4 separate regions of the Homo sapiens genome follow, and regions 1, 2 and 3 are each linked to region 4. The links are contacts of gene promoters, found by promoter capture Hi-C in human tissues and cell types (Jung and others, 2019). All regions are on one chromosome and are shown on one strand. Each heading gives the region's core, a stretch centred on a gene start or on the middle of the fragment in contact. The rest is flanking DNA. Distances are from core to core; before and after follow the strand shown. Region 1 overlaps FAH (fumarylacetoacetate hydrolase). Region 2 has its middle 4.6 kb from the start of MINAR1. Region 3 has its middle 140 kb from the start of TRC-GCA5-1. Region 4 holds the start of ST20-MTHFS (ST20-MTHFS readthrough).

Region 1 (3,383 bases), core at 672-3,171, 260 kb before region 4:
AAATGAACTCTACTCTCAGTTTCACAGTCATCCATTCATATTCCGAATGGACCACTGGTTAAAAACAGGAAGCATAAATGGAATACAAATTAATAAGGAAGATATAGTGATAACTATGGCCAACCTGCCTTGAGATGCTCATCATCCCGTCTGAAAGCTCCATTCATCTGGTCAAAATGCTTCTAGTCCTTAAAATATCACTGTCAAAAAGAGGAAATTTGACCCTGAAAGTCATTCTTGTCTATTTCATATTATTACACACAGATAGGTTTCAATAAAGTAGATCTCCAAAACTAAAGACCATTAAAGTCACTTGTCATGTGGGGCTGGCAGTGAGCATTTCTGGAGTCGGAGACAGTAAAACAAAGAGGCTCTTGTCGCTGAAGATTAAGGAAAAGTAATTGCCAAGTAAAGCCCAGGCTGGACCCAGAATTAACATCCATGAGTTTGGTTTCTTAAGTGAATCTGATGCCAGGAACGTTTCTGGCTCTTTCTGCCCTGTGTGTGTTTCAGACTCTGGGGCAGGTCCATTGGGTTTTCCCAACATCACCAAGCCCTTTAAGTGCATTAAATGCCCAACAAGGGGATAAGCGTGTGATCTCTACTGATGACACCAGCATTCTCTGGTGCCAGTGGGAACAAGTGGATTAACAATGATTTTAAGTGACCTTTGCCTGTGACCCAGAGATCTCCAGTAAAGCCCTACTGTGCAGAGCACGAGGGCCTTTTATCCATGTGCAGGTGAGGGCTTTGAGAAAAAGATGAGTCACTCCTGTGGGTTGATGCCGGGAGAGAAGGCTTTAGGAACAAGGAGAGAAGGGTTTAGGAACAATCTCAGAACACAGCCTAGAGAGCAGGGGTTTTAGCTGAGTCAACAGAAGCAGATGTAGCCCTGGGAACATAAGCCCCAGGAATTCAGAAAAATCCTGGGGAAGGCTTTGGTCTTCCAAATTCAGAGAAGTGTTTGCATCACTGATCTGGAAAGTAGCATCTGGGAGATCCTGCTGACATCTGCCCTATACAGCATTTCCACTGAAATCAGCAAAGCACTGGAGAATATGGCCCTAGAGCATAGCTCTAGGAAGTAAAGTCCACGGGGAGCAGTTCAGCCTCAGAGCATGATATTTCCCAGCCTGTGTGTAGCAGAGACTACTAATTGTCCCCCAGTATCCATTCTCCCCTTCTTTTAGGGCAATCAAACTAATTTTCACAGGGCAAGCAATGTGTTTAGATGAAAGACTACATTTCCAGGCTTTCTTGTAATGAGGTGTGTCTCATCAATGAAATCTAAGACATGTGTGGTATGGGACTACCAGGAAAGCTGCTTAAAATGACCTAACTCAGGAGGAAGGAGGGCTCTTCTGCCCTTCCATCCTCCCAGTCCTCACCTCTTTGTTGTCTCTTTCTGCTGGCCTGGAACTTAGATGTACTAGTTGGAGCTCCAGCAGCCATTTTGTATCATAATGTAACCCTGAGACTAAAAACCACATACCGACGATGGCAGAGCAGAGGTATCTTTAATGACACTGTGCAGCTGCCACACTAACTCCAGCCTTCCTGACCCCAGGTTGCTTTTATGTAAGGAAGAAATACCAGCCTCCTTGATGTTCTTTAGAAATGATAAGCATATTCCATCCTCAGGGCTTTGCACGGGCTGATTCCTGTGCCTGGAGGACTCTGTCCCCAGATATCCATCTGGCCTGCTCCCCTCACTCCTTCAGCTCTCTAGCAGAAATGTACTATGGGATTAAGGCCTTCTCTAACCACATTAACAATAGCATCCACATCTCCCAATTGTCCATAAAACTTATTACCATCTGTCATACCACATGTCTTTTCCTTATCTGTTTATTGTCTATCTCTTTCCACTCGAATGTAAGCTTCAAATGGGCTATTCTGTTTACTGCTGTGCCTCTCATCCTTAGAACAGTGCTTAACACACAGAAGGTGCTCAATAAAGATTTGTTGAGTGAATGAATGAATGGTGCGATCTGACGGATGGGCTCTGCATCCTCAACTATCCCCCTAGGCCCCGGTATAAGGCTCATCAGGCCCAGGAAAGGTCGCAGGGCATACTCCCCTGCTGTCATCACCAAGGAACTAGGGTAGAACCAGGGCTGCCTGTGTGCAATGGGTTGGGACAGAAGAGATGGGGCAGAGCTCACTCTCCTGACTCTGGTGGGCTTGCAAGAGGTGAAAAGCTAGGTCCTTTTCTGCCATCATCACAGTTCAGGTGCTCACCCATGACTCGGAGGCTCTTCCCAAGGCTTACAGTGTGGAGACGCAGCCACGGGGCCCATGAACCAAGCCTACAACCCATATGTGCTCATCCGTTAGCCCCAAGAAACACTGGACATGCAGGGTGCTGTGATGGGCAGTTTTCTGTATTAATTTGGCTAGACTAAGGTACCCAAATATTTGCTCAAATGCTATTCTACATGTTTCTAAGAAAGTACTTTTTAGGTGAAATAAAACTTAAATCAGTGGAGTAAAGCAGAAGACCCCCACAGTGTGGCTGGGCCTCATCTAATCAGTTGATGGCCTTCACCAAACAATGACTCACTTCCCAGAGGAAGAGGAAATTTTGACAGCAGACTGCTTCAGACTCAAACTGCAGCTCTTCCTTGGGTCTCCAGCCAGCAACCCACCCAGCAGGTTTTGGGCTTGCCACCCTCCAGAATCCCAGAAGCCAATTTGCTTAAAATCAATCAATCAATCAATAAATCGATCTCTTTCTCCTTGGTTCTATTTCTCTGGAGAGCCCTGACTACTACAGGTGCCAGTCTCTTTTCAAATTCCATGGAATACCAGGAGGCCTGGGATGTCTAATAAGAAAATCCCACAAAGACCCCTGACCTCACTAATAAGAGTGAGAAAACATATTAATGAATATCTGGCAGGGAGGCTTTACACACCTTGACCCACTGGATCAAATCACGATCATAAGTGGACACAGCTGCATCTGCGGCAGTGCAGGCCTCAGAGCACAATGGCTTTATTTGTCACTGAATGGCGGACCAGGCCTACAGCCCGAGGGAGGACCCCAGTCACAGGGTTGAAAGGGGTGCTTGAGCCCTTTGTTTCCAGAAGAGCAGAGAAAATCTCATGATGGCAGGAGAGCAGGCAGCACTTTTCCAGCACACTGGCCAAAGCCGATGCGGTAACCATCCCCCTGGCAGTACCCTGGAACAGAGGAGGACAAGGATCAGTCACAAAGTTGCTGGGCTCACCGGAACCAACACCTAGGCAGCGGCAGTGCCCGTCAGCACACAGCTGGCCCGAGGCAGGAAGGTGCCATCAGAATCACACACACATATCTTAAACACAAGAATAACCCTCCACGGAAGCTGGGCAGAGTTGCACGCAGGAGCCCTTGGACTAGA
Region 2 (3,590 bases), core at 871-3,370, 500 kb after region 4:
AATAAGCATCCAGAAACTATCCAGCCTCCACATTTTCCTCTGTTTCTAGTGGTGTCCCACTCAGATCCGAAATTTCACTTCATAATATCATTGGCAATGGTGTGAAAACCCAATGTGGTGTAAAAGAAACAGCCTTGAGTTTGGAATGTGAAGACATGGTTTTAGACATTTGATAAGTGATATAAACCACCTATGTGAACTTGGACAAATCACTTGACCTGGTTTTGGTCCTCTAGCATTTAAATGGAGGGTTCTACTTAAATTTAATATTTGAACCCAGAAACATGGACGGTTTCCATCTTACAGGATCGGAGGTTGATTATGAAACCTAATAAATTGATGAGGTCCATGTGATCCAGTCTCAATAAGTGTCCTATTCAATGAAACATAGTCCAGCAGCCAAGAGAAATGTATCATTAATCAAATCCTTCATTTGAACTTCTTAGAGACTAACATCCTCCTCTCTCTCTAAGCCCTTCTTATCTCAGCTGCTTTAAAGCTCCTCTTTCTCCAGTGCCCCCCAAATTCTCTCTAAATACATAACACACATCTTTCTTCATCTCTCCTTTCCTACCTCCTCTCTACTTTTCTGCATTGTGTAGAGCTATGCATTTTCTCTCTCCTGTCTTTAGGGGAGGGAAGGGGAAAGGAAAACTGTGGGCAAAATCAGAATTCTCTTTAGTGATAGAGGTAGGGGAGAAGACTGTGACCACTGACACATTAATACTTTTTAATCCATCATAATCAGATCTCCTGTGGTACATTTTAGATGTATTGAACTATTAGAAAAGGGCACTGGATATAGCATCATTATATAAAGATTTTGTCTCCAGCTCACCTACTATCTAGGTAAACTTGAGATAGTTTCTTAACCTCTCTTGAGCTTCAGTTTTATCATCTATAAAAGTGTAATAAGAGATTTCATAGAGTTTTTGGGAAGATGAGATAAATGGAAAGTGGAAGCCTCATAACAGGTATTCCGCAAAAGTTTGTGACTGAAAATGGCAGGCTGAAAGAAAAAACAAAAGGAAGGAAGAAAAGGGAGGGAAGGAGGGAAGGAGGAAGGAGGGAGGGAGGGGGAAGAAAGGAGGGAAAGAGGGAGGGAAGGAGGGAGGGAGGAAAGGGGAAGAAAGGAAGGAAAGAATGAAGGAAGGAGGGAGGGAGGGAGAGAGGGAGAGGAGGGAGGGAAGGGGAAGAAAGAAGAAAAGGAGGCAAGGAGGGATGGGGGAGGTAGAGGAGGGAGGGAGGAAGGAAGGGAGAGAAGAAGGAAGGAGGGAGGGAGGGAGAGAGGGAGAAGAAAGGAAGGAGGGAAGGAGGGAGGGAGAGGAGGGAGGGAGGGGGAATAAAGGAAGGAAAGAAGGGAAGAAGAGAGGGAGGGGAGGGAGGGAGGAAGGAAGGAGGGAGAGAAGGAAGGAAGGAAGGAAGGACTTTCATCTTGGCATCTAGGCATAAGCTTGAATGTACCAGTGAACAAGGAATTGGGCACGGGAAAACTGTTTCCTCCTCTGGGCTGAAAGGCTGAGCTGTAATCTCCTTTTGGATCCTGAGAGAAGATGTTGCTTTGCTGGCCGACAAAACGGCAAGCAGTACACATTTTTACAATCATGTCATTGGCATGGGTACCCCGTGATTAGTGCTTAGCAGCTCCCTCTCTGATTCTCCTCTGAGCTGCCCAAGAATCCTGTATCTGTATTTCTCCTGGGTACTCCAGGGTTGTCACCTGCCAGGACAGCACTTAGTGACTTCACCCTGAACCCAGAGTTTTTTAGATCTCATTCTATTAAGCCTCAGTTGTCCTGTATCTTATATAAGCACTTAAAAGGATATATGTCATGCACAAATAAATCTCAGAGATCATTTAAGATATAATTTTCAGGCAGTAGAACAGTAGCTTCTAACCTCTACTTCACTTCCTAGGGAAACACTTTTTGATATAATATCTGTTCCCAGAGGAATTCCACGAGTGGCAGGACTTTAGCTACAACAATAGGTTTATGAGACACAAATTTGGAGTGAAGTGGAATATAGAGCCACTCCCCAGCTCTTAACACTTTGTTGTGAGTTAAATGGGTAGAGATTGATAGTAGCAGATTGCCAATCATAAAAATGAGATCCAGAAGGAATGGTAAACTTCTGATTTTTTAACTTTTATTTTAGGTTCAGGGGTACATATGCAGGTTTGTTATATAGGTAAACTCGTGTCATGAGGGTTTGTTGTACAGATTATTTTGTCATCCAGGTATTAGGCCTAGTACTCATTATTTTTCCTGATCCTCTACCTCCTCCCATCCTCCACCCTCCAGTAGGCCCCAGCCTCCATTGTTCCCTTCTTCGTGTCCATGAGTTCTCATCATTTAGCTCCCATTTATAAGTGAGAACATGCATTATTTGGTTTTCTGTTCCCACATTAGTTTGCTAAGGATAATGGCCTTCAGCTCCATCCATGTCCCTGCAAAGGACATGATCTTGTTTTTTCATGGCTGCATAGTATTCCATGGTGCATATGTACCACATTTTTTTATCCAGTCTACTATTGATGGGCATTTAGGTTGATTTCATGTCTTTGCTATTGTGAATAGTGCTGCAATGAACATACGTGTGCATGTGTCTTTATGGTAGAACTATTTATTTGCCTTTGGGTCTATACCCAATAATGGATTGCTGGGACAAATGGTAGGAATTATAAACTTCTAAGTGATGCTGTGAATTATAAATGAATCTGAAACTAGAACTGAGTTCTTCTGAATGCAGCCCAGTGCTCACAAAGGGTTACTTCCTAAATTTCCTAAAATACGGCCTGGAGTTCAGAGCATCTCTATGCTGTCTAGGAGCTTCCTTGAGTCAGGCTGGAGACTAGGGGCCTCTCTAGACGAAGGTGAGTATAGCAGTACCCATGGTCCCCTTCAGAAGGCTGGTCCCAGGGAGCCAGGCTGAGCATACTACAGCTTGAGTTAATCCATGCTCCACTGAATTCTACTCTCCTGCTTTGCAAATGGCCTTTCCAAGCAGAGGCTGCTGTGGTGGCCTGTTTGGCAGATGCAGAGGATATTCGTTTTTTGTTATTTGGCTGCCCAGATTCCAAATTCTCTCCCTATTTCAATGGAAGCTGCCATAGTGAAATTTCAAGAGCCTCTCTTCTCCTGAACCTTGACAGCATGGGCACGGGCAAGTGGCCCGAGCTTGGCCAACCCAATGCTTTTGCCTGAGGCTGTGAATCTGAAGCCAGGGACGATGTGAAAGAATCTGGTGACAGTCTGAAAATCGTCCCACCCCTAGTGGTAGTGGCATCCAGGGTACAATGGTCTGAGTCCAGTAGTGGGAGCAACAGAGCCTAAACAGCCTCTTCCTGTGGCACGACCTTGGCAGTGATTCCAGCCCCCCAACTCCCCCAGTTTCCTTCAGTTCCTGCATGCATATTTTCCGATACTGATTCTCTGGCCCCACCACTGATTCTGTCAGCTCCTGATATCCGTTCAGTAGATTCCTTCACTCTCCAAGCACGCCAGAGTCAGTGTCTGATGTTGGCAACCCAGAGTCCTGACTGGTGCATGAGAGATTGGCTTTTGACTCTTGGAAATGATCATGCCCTG
Region 3 (3,214 bases), core at 572-3,071, 320 kb after region 4:
ATCAGGGGTCAGGAACATGTACTAAAATAATGTTGGAGAAATAGACTACACAGGTCGCGGGAGCCTTGAAAGCCAGATTAGGAACTTGGACTTTATTTTATAACTTGAAAGGGGGAACCAGTGTAATTTTCTGAGCATTGGAGTGGCAGAATTAGTTATATGAGTTTCATTAGGTGTAAATTGAGGGAAATCACTGAGCCGTAGACCAATCTGGTGCTTTTTCTGAAACCTAAGCTCTCTTCCAGGAAGATTGAAGTTAGTGACAGATGGAATTTCTGAGCACTGCAAAGGAGATAATATATGCAAAATGCACAATGCCTGGCACATAGTAGGTCTTCAATGGCAATTCATTTCTCCACGTTTCTTTCTAGTTATCACAAGGAAACTTTCAAGGAAAAACAAATGTGTGTTATATAGAGAGGCAGTATGGTATAGTGATTAGAAGTGCCACTTGAGTTTCCAACAGATTCCTGGGTTTAAATGCTGCTGTACAGCTGTTCACTGCTATGTGACCTTCAGCAAGTTGGTTTTCTACTCTGACTCTGCATGCTCATTTCTAAAAGGGGAATGATGCCTTCATTATTGGAGTATTTGAGTGTTAAAAGTGCTAATGTATATGAAATGCTTAGCACAGCACCTGTCACACACTAGGCATTCAACACATATTATCTGTTACTAAAAATAAACATTAGTCTTCCCAGTGGAATTCTTTCCTGTCTTTGGTCAGTAGGCCAGTCAAAAGAGAGGGAAGATTGCATTAAAGATTTTGGCTTCCTTAGAGCTTTTTTTTCAAATCTGGATACAAAAGAAACAAGTTAATTTTTTGCCATTGGAATGTGCTCTAACCCAATATTCCCCATTCTTGCTGCCCCTGTTAAGGAGGCAGTCACCATTCTCAGAAATCAGAAAACCTGCTTGTCCTGGCTCTTCTGTCAACAAATATCCACCCCTCTATGGACCTTAGAAACCCCATCTAGCCTTGGTCAGTGGTTTTCAACCTTCATTATAATTATTGTTATTATTTGTAGCAGTAGGAGGTTGCTTCCGTCCTGATCATACATGGCTGCCCAATCTGTACATCTGATGACAGTGGAGATGCTCTGGGGGAGGTGGCGGCTCCAGAGCCCGGAGACTGAGCTGGCCTTGGGAGCAGGTGCACAGCTCCTCCTCCTCACTGTCTCTCTCAATTCCTCTCCAACCATCTTCTCCTTTCCAGCCTGTGGTGTAATCTTAATCAAGTCTACAGCTGGAATATGGGTTCTTTGATTAACAAATGATTTATCCTTCCCATTCTTGTTTATGGCATAAACTCTAGTGATTCTGTGGAACTCACAATCCCGTTCTCACCAATATTGCCTCCATTGGGAATTTCAAAAGTCTAATTTGAAAGTCAAAACTGAGAATTGACGTTTTTTCTCTCTGTTGCTCAGCTTCTGGATACAGCAAGGGCAGACTGATGAGCTCTGCCTGGAATTACAGGGAGGGTCATGGGGCAAAAGGGAATTATAGGAAATGACCCGCATGTAGGTTACTATCAGAATAGTACTCCAGCACGCGCCCACAGGCCAGGGGCTGGGAAGACAGTGACAAAGAAATAGCCATTGCCCTTGGAATGAAATCACTTCTCTGTGTATCACCATCCCTCCCAACTGCAGCCACTGATTTCCCTGAAAAGTAAACATACCATCTGTAATGGATTGAATCGTGTCCCTCTCCCCCGACAAAAAAAAAGAGATGTTGAAATCCTAACCCTCAATACCTTCCAATGTGACCTCATTTGGAAGTAGGATTACTGCAGATGTAATTAACTAAATTAAAATGAAGTCATGCAGGAGTAGGGTGGCCTCTTAATCCAATATGACGGCTGTCCTTACGCAAAGGAGAGATCTGAACACAGGAGGAGAGGAGACCATGTGATAATGCAGGTAGAGATTGGAAATAGGCAATGACAAGCCACCCAGGATTGGCAGTGACACCAGAGGCTGAGAGAAGAGCATGGAACAGATTCTCCTCTGCAGCCTGGGGAGGGCATGGCCCAGCTGACACCTTGATTTCTGGCCTCCAGAACTGTGAGACAATAAATCTCTGCTGTTTGAAGCTACCTAATTTGTGGCACTTTATTACAGCAGCTGTAGGAAATGGATACACCATCCCCCTTTCCTTCCCTTCCAGCCTCGGTGCCGTTGCTCTTGCTCAGGGACTCACCTGGGCTCTGGATTCCATCCCTCCTGCCTTCTCAGAGACCTCACTCCCTCACACCTTCTGTGTTTTCAACTTAACCTTTCTCTTGACTATTCCTCTTGAGCACAATATGCTCCCACTTCCCTCATCTGGAAAGTTTTCTTTTGCCGCCTTCCCTTTATCCGTGGTCTTCTTTTACCCTTTATTTCAGCATGGTACTTCTAGGAGGAGATGTTTATACATGGGTCCTTTAGTTCACCTATTTGCTTCTTGAGTCGCTTGAATGCAGCTTTTGTGCTCATCACATCTTCCAGAAGACAATGACGTCCTGGATGGCCGGATCCTGTGGCTGCCTTCCTGGACCTCATGAGACACTGGATCTCACTGATTAATCTCCTTGAAGTGCTTTTCTATTTTGACTTATATGGACTCTTGGTTTTCCTCCTATCTCTCAGAGTACTTTTTTTTTTTGGGGGGGGGGCAGGTTTTCACATTTCTTTTCTTCTACTCACAACATAAATACATTTTACGATCTCTCTAAAAGTCCTCCAACAGCTAGACAGAGCAACTCACACATTTAGATTCTGGGGCTCTGAATCAGGGTTGGGGTCTTAACCAAGATGGCCAGGAGAGGGAAAAGACAAGTGAAACAAGCCTACATCATATAAGTCCTTAGAAGCCAGTCTGAAGGGCAGGCGTGGGGCAGAAGAGGAGAGACAAGGATGGGAGCTAGGTGGAATTATCCAACTCCAAGGTCCCAAAGCCAATGATTTCTTTGTCTTTCTGTAGCCACAGTGCCATTCACTAAGTAATTGTTCAATTAATGCATCTTGCTTGTTAAACAAGGTCAACAAGAAGGTGAGGCAGGTCCTTAGTCATGACCAAAAATGAGGCATAAAGGCTACACTCTGCTTTGGTGGCCATGTGCAGTATAGTATAAGTGTAGGTTCAGGTGGCTTAAAGAGGTATGAAGAGCGGGTATCACCAGGGTTCTCTCCTTGACTGTCCTCTTGTCAATGCACACACCTGGGCC
Region 4 (3,271 bases), core at 96-2,595:
CGCTTTAAACCGGGAGGCGGAGGTTGCAGAGCCAAGATCGGGCCATTGCACTCCAGCCTCGGTGACAAAATATAATAATAATAAAATTAAAAAGGGCTTAGCATAGTATCTGGCCAGTAAGAAGAAATTATGATTATTATTTTGACCTTAGACCTCTCTTAACTGTCTGAAATTCGGGTTTCTTAAAGGACACAGGCGGTCTCTGAGGCTCCCGCCAGCGGAAACAATCTCCCATTAAAATAGGCATCGGTTAAATATTTGCTGAACAAAGTAAACTACGTCTCCCCGAATCCCATTGAGCGCCTACTCGAGATCCGGACCGGAGCCGGGCAGGACGGGCCCGTCGGTCCCACACGCCGTATAAGTGGGTGGAGAATACCCCACACGCCCAGACCAATAGGCGGGGTGAACGAGGACCGTGTTCACCAACTCAGCCCGGCTCGCGGAATGCCTTCTGTTCGCCTCCGGGCTTGCAGTGGCTTTCCGTCGCAGGTCAGGCCGCGTTCCACTTCCGCCGGCAGTCCAGACACGCCCCTCCGGGTCCAATCCCCGCCCCTCACACACCTGGCCCCGCCCCGTCGGGAGCTCGGCGGTCCTCTCTGCGCTAGGTCTTCTTAGCGCCCGACGGGGCCACGCCCATCCCCGACGCTCTGAGGTCACCTACAGGGCCGACCCTCGGTGGGCGGAGGGACGGAGGGAAGATGGCTGCAGAGACCGGATATTGGCGCTGCCTCCCCGAATCCCGGACCTGCGCTGAGGAGGCGGTTCATCTGTGGCCAGCGGTGCTTCGGGACCCGCGCTGGGGGAACCCTGGCGACGGGGCCTGGCCCTGCTATATGCGGGGGCCTCGGCTGGAGTGAGCGGCGTGGACGCCTCTTTCCTCCGGCTCTTCCCTTGTTGCTGCGAGAGCGAGAGGGCCGCGGGCGGCGGAGGCAGCGGGGCCGGGATGGAGGACGTTAACTCTAACGTGAACGCGGACCAGGAGGTGCGGAAGCTGCAGGTGCCGGTGAAGAAGCTGGGGAAGCAGCACGAACAGCCGAGGAGCCGCTCGCGCTGTGCTGGGCCCCGGCTCCATCGCGGTTCGCCGGCTCCTCCACTCCCTCCTACGGCGCGGGGTCCCCTCGGGGCTTCCCCTTGGGTCTCAGCGCAAAGTCGGGCGGCGGGGCCGGATGGACCCGAGGCGGACGAATAACGAGGAGCTGCGAGACGCCACCTTCTTGCTGGCGGCGGGGGAGGGCGGCTTGCTAGACGACCTGGAGCGTCTGTCAGGCTAGGAGGAGGGGGAGGAGAGCTGGTGAGCGCCGGGCGCCGGGCGGGGCTGGGCGGGGACGCCCCGGTGGCGGAGGACGTCCCGGAGGATCCCTCTGGTCGGGCGCCTGGCTTTGTGTAGCCAGCCAGGTCCGCTCTCGGCGGGTACTCGTGGTCTTGCTCTGGCAGAGGGGAGGTCAGTTGGAGTTGGGGGTTCGAGGCTTGCAAGTACAGGGCTTGTAGCTCCTTCTCTGGATTGTGGACCCTCTGGGTGCTGGGCCCTATTGGGGTTGGTGGGTTGGTTGGATCCAGAAGGGCTGTTCGCCGTGGGGAGGAGTCGGAGGTGGGAAACTGCTTTGTAGGCAGGGATTCTGCTTTGTATAGGAGACCAGCTTTCGGATGCTGGTCTGGGCATTTTGGATGTTGGGGAGGGGTTTGGCTTGATGAGGTATCACCAAGTTCGGGGGGTGCAGACCAAAGTCGCCGACGTCTATGCAGCGGTTGGTGTTTGGGATCAATTTCTAGCGTGGATGGGGAGACCATGTGGATCAGCACTCCCCTTTAGGTAGTGGGGTAAAGCTTGCTCTGTGTGAAGAGGTCAGAGGATGGTGGTGTTTTGTGTGAAGAATCAAGGGTGAAACAAGAGCCCTGGCTCTGATATTTTAAAACAAGAATTGAGTCTGGCATTTTGCAGAGCTCTGAATTGACATTTATCACATCTATCCTTCATTTCCATGTCCTCCTATGGGCAGAAAAGAGTCCTATTTTAATACCTAAACCAAAGCTGTATTGTCATAAGCCACTTCTTGATGAAATTGTGACACACACCTTAATATCACTTTCATAAATAGGAAATGGGAGGCTTTTCTCCTCATTTTATTATAAAGATGTCTGTGGGAAATTCTCTTAATTCATCCTCTTTAAAATTTTACCTTTTAGCTAAAATGTCTCTGTTGAAATTCAAATTTCTAACTTAGTGAAATCGAAATCATTCATAGACTGTAGTATTGCAGGGCTCGAACTGTGCAGTGTTCTGAGGTAGTTAAGAGCTTTGCTGGATTCAGGCCCTGGGTTTGCCCAGGCCTGTATGACCTTGAGCAAGTTATTCTGAGCTTCACTTTCTTCCTCTATGATGGAGAAAATAATGATAGCACTTACCTCTATAGAGTTATGAAAATTTAGTAAGATAATCCATGTATGCATTTAGCACTGTTGAGATCTTGGCTTACTGCAAGCTCCGCCTCCTGGGTTCACACCGTTCTCCTGCCTCAGCCTCCCGAGTAGTTGGGACTACAGGCACTGGCCACCACTCCCTGCTAATTTTTTGTTTTCGTATTTTTAGAAGAGACGGGTTTCACCGTGTTAGCCAGGATGGCCTCGATCTGACCTCGTGATCCTCCCGCCTCGGCCTTCCAAAGAGCTGGGATTACAGGCATGAGCCACCATGCCCAGCCTATTACTCTTAAGCCTAGTTATTTAAATCAAACATTTAGTGAGCTCTTACATGATGTTATAGGAGACTCTGAAGATTCTCAACTGTTGATTCCTGTTCATAAGGCAGTTATAGTCTTGTTGAGAACTAAGTTTTATGCAGATAAATAAACTAGAAAGTGTATGGTGAATTGCCGAAAGAGAGAACAAAAGTACTGTCAGTGCGCAGTAACTGGGAAGAAAACAGTAGTCCAAAGTAGAGGGGCCAAACTTTGAGGAGGAGGCTTTGGAGTCTGGAAGTGAGGAAAGAGTGGGAAGGGCATTTTATGCTCTGACAGCTACAAGAGCAGAGTCAGAGATATTTGTAACTCCCAGTTAGGAGATTTGAATAACAGAAGTACTCTTGAGTATATGGTGACAAACCTTTATTTTTTATTTACTATTTTTTTTTTTTTTTGAGACGGAGTCTCGCTCTGTTGCCCTGGCTGGAGTGCAGTGGCATGATCTCAGCTCACTGCAACCTCCGCCTCCCAGGTTCAAGCAATTCTTCTGCCCCAGCCTCCCAAGTAGCTGGGACTGCAGGTGCCCACCC

What was found. The method cuts DNA at HindIII sites, captures the fragments that hold promoters and counts their contacts. A contact is called where the count stands out against the background at its distance.
Region 1: a fragment that was not itself captured here is called in contact with the fragment with the promoter of ST20-MTHFS in region 4 in 1 of the 25 tissues and cell types used here (lymphoblastoid cells).
Region 2: a fragment that was not itself captured here is called in contact with the fragment with the promoter of ST20-MTHFS in region 4 in 5 of the 25 tissues and cell types used here (H1 embryonic stem cells, IMR-90 fibroblasts, aorta and 2 more).
Region 3: a contact is called between a fragment that was not itself captured here and the fragment with the promoter of ST20-MTHFS in region 4, in 1 of the 25 tissues and cell types used here (pancreas).

Annotation. Positions count from the first base shown.
Region 1 is chr15:80,185,930-80,189,312 of GRCh38, reverse strand. It overlaps FAH (fumarylacetoacetate hydrolase), which reads right to left. Exons shown (of 14, transcript NM_000137.4): 14 at 2,964-3,183. The coding sequence ends at 3,104. Among named protein-coding and RNA genes, the nearest start is that of FAH, 35 kb to the right of the region's middle. RefSeq lists an enhancer at 2,646-3,146. The HindIII fragment of the contact is 5,416 bases long and covers 1-3,383 here.
Region 2 is chr15:79,425,976-79,429,565 of GRCh38, reverse strand. It overlaps a transcript of MINAR1 not described here. Among named protein-coding and RNA genes, the nearest start is that of MINAR1, 4.6 kb to the left of the region's middle. The HindIII fragment of the contact is 7,124 bases long and covers 1-3,590 here.
Region 3 is chr15:79,600,314-79,603,527 of GRCh38, reverse strand. No RefSeq gene overlaps it. Among named protein-coding and RNA genes, the nearest start is that of TRC-GCA5-1, 140 kb to the left of the region's middle. The HindIII fragment of the contact is 8,440 bases long and covers 1-3,214 here.
Region 4 is chr15:79,921,166-79,924,436 of GRCh38, reverse strand. ST20-MTHFS (ST20-MTHFS readthrough) reads left to right here and starts at 1,345. Exons shown (of 4, transcript NM_001199760.2): 1 at 1,345-1,398. ST20 (suppressor of tumorigenicity 20) reads left to right here and starts at 685. Exons shown (of 3, transcript NR_037653.2): 1 at 685-985. ST20-AS1 (ST20 antisense RNA 1) reads right to left here and starts at 1,666. Exons shown (of 1, transcript NR_028330.1): 1 at 1-1,666. RefSeq lists enhancers at 1-106, 308-357, 788-967 and silencers at 498-647, 1,268-1,317, 1,328-1,397, 1,418-1,527. The HindIII fragment of the contact is 9,290 bases long and covers 1-3,271 here.